2 separate regions of the Homo sapiens genome follow, and region 2 is linked to region 1. Evidence: promoter capture Hi-C in 16 types of primary human blood cells and fetal thymus (Javierre and others, 2016). All regions are on one chromosome and are shown on one strand. The core of a region is centred on a gene start or on the middle of the fragment in contact, and the rest is flanking DNA. Distances in the headings are between cores, read along the strand shown.

Evidence for each region. The method cuts DNA at HindIII sites, captures the fragments that hold promoters and counts their contacts. A CHiCAGO score of 5 or more calls a contact.
Region 2: a fragment that was not itself captured here is called in contact with the fragment with the promoter of MAD1L1 in region 1 in 1 of 17 cell types (M2 macrophages); the score reaches 5.6 in M2 macrophages.

The regions. Positions count from the first base shown.
Region 1 is chr7:2,231,532-2,234,231 of GRCh38, reverse strand. MAD1L1 (mitotic arrest deficient 1 like 1) reads left to right here and starts at 1,287. Exons shown (of 19, transcript NM_001013836.2): 1 at 1,287-1,360. It overlaps MRM2 (mitochondrial rRNA methyltransferase 2), which reads left to right. Exons shown (of 3, transcript NM_013393.3): 3 at 1-37. RefSeq lists enhancers at 1-434, 1,169-1,298, 1,084-1,378 and silencers at 1,013-1,391, 1,369-1,788. The HindIII fragment of the contact is 9,650 bases long and covers 1-2,214 here.
Region 2 is chr7:1,703,142-1,705,841 of GRCh38, reverse strand. All of the region lies in intron 2 of ELFN1 (extracellular leucine rich repeat and fibronectin type III domain containing 1), which reads right to left. Among named protein-coding and RNA genes, the nearest start is that of LNCRI, 10 kb to the right of the region's middle. RefSeq lists enhancers at 1-313, 314-1,023. The HindIII fragment of the contact is 7,510 bases long and covers 1-2,700 here.

The DNA.
Region 1 (2,700 bases), core at 38-2,537:
TTTAATAAAATAATAGAGATTGCATTATTTTAAGGTACTTTCATGCTTTGAAGTTTTGTTTTTTTTAAACTGGCTTCCTCAAAGCCATTTCCTGGAGGTGTACTCATCCCTCAAGAAGAGTTTGTTGACTATGATTAAATTCCAAGGACCAGTGGGGGAAGTCTGGAAACCCAGGAATCTCCATCAGGAATCTGGGGCTCTGTCCAGCTCCCCGAAGGAAACTGCGGGTCAGATGTTTTGATTTTTTTTTTTCTTTGAGAAACAGAATCTCACTCTGTCACCCAGGCTGGAGTGCAGTGAAGTGATCTTGGCTCACTGTAAGCTCCACTTCCCGGGTTCACGCCATTCGGCCTCAGCCTCCCGAGTAGCTGGGACTACAGGCGCCCATCACCACGCCCGGCTATTTTTTTTTTTTTTTTTTGTATTTTCAGTAGAGACGGGGTTTCACCGTGTTAGCCAGGATGGTCTCGATCTCCTGACCTCGTGATCCGCCTGCCTCGGCCTCCCAAAGTGCTGGGATTACAGGCGTGAGCCACCGCGCCCGGCCGCCAGATGTTTTGACTTTTCATTTTATTTCTGGTTGCAGTCAGGTTGTTAAGTCCAGGGACTCTTGCCCTACTCCACCTCGTTCTCTTATTCCATTTCATTCCCGGGGCACACAACTTGGAAGTCTTTCTCTGAAAGAAGGAAAATTCATTGCAGACCCTTAGGAACAGCATCTTCTTAGAGGGAAGCCAGGGGCTGGGCAGAGACGGGAGGAGGAGAGGAAGAGAATATGGAAACGAGTAAGGCACACTCTTCTCAGGAAGGCTCCAATTTGAAGGATAGACAAAGGTTACCATAATAATGGTGGGGCCTGACCTCACCCCATTGGATGCTGTGCCCTGGCTTGCAGAGCACTGGGAAGGTAGCCTAGTAGCATAAATTGCATTTCTAGTGGGCCCAGAAAAAAGCAAAATAACGGATTGATTCAAGCTGATACTGAGTAGCAAAATTTTGGGAAGAGTCAACGGTGCAAGTTTGTCCGAGGAGGCTGCCGTGGGCGCGGCTATTCCACACATTACGGCGCGAGGCGAAAGCCTTAGTGGAAGCGCGTCCTGCGCAAAGCCGGGGGGCCCCCGACTGCGCCTTGGCTCAGCCTTCGGTTCCGAGTCCTTTCCGTGCGGAGTCTCCCAGGGGTGGCGGCTCCGGGTGCGGACGCGGAGTCCCCAGGATCAGCCGGTGCGCAGACTCGGTTCTTTACGGCCCGATTGCCACGCAGGTCTCGCGAGAGCGCAGGCGCAAGTGTCGCGATAAATGGGCGCCGGCGGAGCGGAGGGAGATCCGAGCGGCGGCGGCAAGCTGGCTGCGAGCGGCTGAGGTAAGCGGCCCGGCTCGCGCGGGCGGCGGGGTCCCGGGGTCCCGGGGGTCCCGGGAATGGCAAGGGAGGGGCCGAGGGCCCGGACCGGGTGTGCTCGCCAGGGTGGGGCACAACGACCCAGACCCCGTGCCTCAGGACCCCGCGCCCGCCCCGTCTCCCATGGGCGCGCTCTCCTCTCTGTGCTCTCCCCTCCTCTCCCCACTCCCCTGTCCCCACTCCCCCTTTGGGCTGTGCTGGGGACAGCGGGCCCCTCGCCTGGGTCTCCGCAGCCGTCCCTTGTGCCAGGGCGGGCGGCCGAGGGGCGCGTGCTCGTGGTCCCAGCCCCGGGGTCCCGCTGCCTACCGTGTGGGTCCCCGGGCTAGGGTGCCGGCGCGCCGAGGAAGGGGCCTGAGCTGGCGCCTGGTGGAGAAGTCGGGGCTGCAGGGGCTCTTGGCATCCTGGTGGCTCGCGCCGGTCCGCTCTCAGGAAGGGGGCGTGTGGGCCCGGTTTCCCCTCGGGGATGGCAAGGGCCACCCTGATCTCGTTTGGGCAATGGAGGAATTGGGCTGTGGAGCCTCCTTCCAGGCGGGCCTGCCTCTGCGGGGCTGGCAGCCTGGGGAGCTCAGGCCTCTGCTTGCACCAGGCCAAGGTTCTTGTTAAATGGAAACTCAGAAACTGTGCAGCTGCAGAAGTTCTACCTTTGGCTTTTAAACGCGCTTGGCTGTTCCCTAGTTGTGGCTGGTGGGCCGGCCTGCCATGAGCCCATAGTAAGCGCCGGTGTTGGGGGTGCAAAGTTCTTTACTGCGGTTTGTCTTCAGCCTTCCAAAGCCAGACAGACCCAAGTTCCAATCTCCGTTCTGTAACTTTTTGAAGCTTCGGTTTCATCATCTCTAGAATCTGTGTAAAAAGACCTAATTCACCACCCTGTTGAGACTGAGCTTACAAATATAGTGCTGGTCAACCTGCAGCCGTATTCCCATCATCTAGCGGTGGAAGACTTGAGGGATATTGGCCCCGTTCCCCACAACTTTGCAAGTAGATTTCACTGTCATGAGTTTACAGATGAGGAAACTGAAGTTCAAGAAGTCTCGGTGCTCGGAAATGTCAGATACCTTTCTTTCTGATACCTAGTTGAAAATAGTAGTAGTACTTATTAATGTCACTAGAAATAAACAATGAAAATGAGCACAGCTGTGATGATCATCATCTTTACTGTCACTGTTGCATGCCTCGTTTCTGATTCCCAGAGGCCAGATTTTTTTTTTAATTAATTATTATTATTTTTTGAAACGGAGTCTTGCTCTGGCACCCAGGCTGGAATGCAGTGGCGCGATCTCAGTTCACTGCAACCTCCATCTCCT
Region 2 (2,700 bases), core at 9-2,508, 530 kb after region 1:
CAGGCAGTTTTGTCTGTGATATTCGGGGGCTCATCAGACCTCCCCGAGGACCATCCCGGGACACTAAGACTCTACTTTACAGAAGGGCAACAAATCTGTGCAGGATGTTGTGGACAGGAAACCGAGGCCCAAAGCCATCCACTGAATTGCCATGAGCCAGAAAGGGCAGGGCCAGAAAGGGCAAGGGCCCAGAGGGACAGCAGCCCCCAGAGGCGAGGGTAAATTGAGGCTCCGAGTGGCTGATCACACAGGTGCATGGTGAGGCTGTGAGGCCTGCCATCTGAGGTGCCCACTGTGTGCCGTCGGAAGGGGGGCCCAGCAGTGCCCTCGGGCAGGCAGTGGCGGCTGCCACGCTGGACTCACTCCCCTGGCACCCTGGCGGTTGGGGGGAGCTCCTCCTCCTCCTTCCAGGATGAAGAACAACTCATCAACTTGCAAATGTCCGGGTGAGAGGGTTGGAAAAATGAAGGCGCCCAAACTTGACATTTGCATTTCAAACACTTATATCAGCAAAACAAATAACAGTAATTATACCATTTGCATATTTTGTGCAATGATTGTTTAGCGAGGTGGGGAGGAGGGGCGCCTGCTGATGCCAGCAGCCCAGCCTCCCGCACAGCTGTGCCGCCCCGCCCAGGGTCCCTGCCACCCTGCACCTCCATGCTGCCCACCCCTTGGCCCTGTGGGTGTGACCTGCAGCCCTCAGGCTGTTACCTCCTGCGGGCTCTGCCCTTTGGCCACTGGGTGTCCCTCTGTTCTCCAGTACGCGCCCCCCACCCCAGCAGGTCTCCACCTCTGCCCTCTGCACTTGCTGTGCCCTCTGCCTGGGAGCCTCTCGCAGACCCACCCAGGCTGGCTCCTCTGTTCAGGGCCCATCCTCACTGTCCCCGTCTCCACATTCTGACGGGGACACGCACGGCTGCCTTCTCTCCAGCCGGGAGCTCCATGAGGCTCTAAGCTGACCTCGAGCCCTGGTGGACAGGGCTGACCCTTGGTGTGGGGCCTGCCCAGCCCACACCCCAGCATACAGCAGGCAGGCCCTCAGCAGACAGGTGACGTTGCCACTCAAGTCCCTGCCCCCTACTGGGGGGCTGGGCACCTGGCTGTGGAGGGGTGCCCAGACCTGGCACTGACCTCGCAGGGGTGACGTGATGTGGGGTCTCAGAGTGAGGGAGACGGGACTCCCAAGCAAGGGCAGTGGGTGATCTGACTGCGTACCCCAGGTCACACTCAGGACCCCAAGCTGACCCCCACCTAGTACTGCTGTAGGTGGAGCCTCCTGGGGTGGGGAGGAGTCGAGACCCAGTGACCCACATGGCTTTGTGTGTATCACCATGTGTTTACGGAGGGTCTGGCTGTGTGTGAGCACGTGTGCACATGCATGAGTGTGTGTGCATGCAGGTGTGCTTGTGTGTGCATGTGTGAGTGTCTGTGTGCTTGTGTGTGTGTATTGTAGGTTCTCCAGACAACGCTGGTCCTTTTGTCCGGATCAGGACCAAGAGACTGGGTCTCTGGGTGCCCATTCCCCACAGCCCAGTTTTGGGGTGAGGAGGGGGAGAGTATGGCCTCCATCGGTGCTGGGAAAAGGAGGTGGCCCCACCCACCAGCCCACTCACAGCTGGCAGGGTCCCCCACCCAGAGGCCACCATGCCCGGCTGCAGGCTCCCTTCTCCTGAGTGGCAGCCGTAACAAGAACAACAGCGGTTGTGCACCTGTGGCAAATGCCAGGCCCTCCCATGGGCTGACTTGCAGAACCATCCTCCAGCCCCACGAGGAGGTGGAAACTCCAGCTTTATTATCCCTGTTTTCAGATGGAGAAACTAAGGCACACCGCAGTGACACCTCTTGCTGAAGGTCACACAGAAGAGCCGGGATTTGTACTGAGCCCTCCCGGCCCCTTGCTTTTTGCAGGACAAACCCCCCAGCACACAGTCCGGCGACAGCCCTTACAGGACAGGTGTCATCAGTACCCGCATTTCACAGACTGGGAAACCGAGTCTCAAACATACACAGAGACCTCCCCAAGGTTACACTGGATGTAGCTAAACTCGGCCGAGAGTTCTTTGCTTTGGACTGAAACTCAGGCAGAGGCTGCCAGTAGGATTGTCCCCGTGGTAATTAGGGCTCCACAATCAATCCCAGCGCACAAGATGCCACCTCCCTGCTTCCTTTAATCTCCCCCGCTCAGCACCGACAGAGGAAGCTGAGCCCAGAGACTTGGAAGTGCAAATGAGGCCCCATCCCCTGGTAAACTGCAAGCGGCAATTAACTCCTCACTTCACACCCCACAGCCCCACAAATTCCAGACGGGGTAAGCAGTTAAATATGAAATATTAAGCCATAAAAAAGCTGGAAGAAAACAGAATTCAATACTTATCAGTTCTCAGGAGGGAAACAGGCTTTCCAAGCTCAGAAGGAAGAGAATAAATTTTAAAAGAAAAAGGAGGCAGATTTGACCAAATAAAAATAAGAAAAAGGAACACAAAAAGTAACCCAAATTAAAAGCTGTATAGCAGAGAGGGAAAGATATTTGTGGCGAATGTGACAGATAAATGATAACTATCTTCATTATGTAAAGAACTCGTTCAAATTGATTAGGGAGACATCAACAGCATATAAACAAATTTGTAAAGGAACAAACACAAAACAGAAAATACAGGTGGTTACGAAACGTATGGCCCAATGCTCAACCTCCCGTAT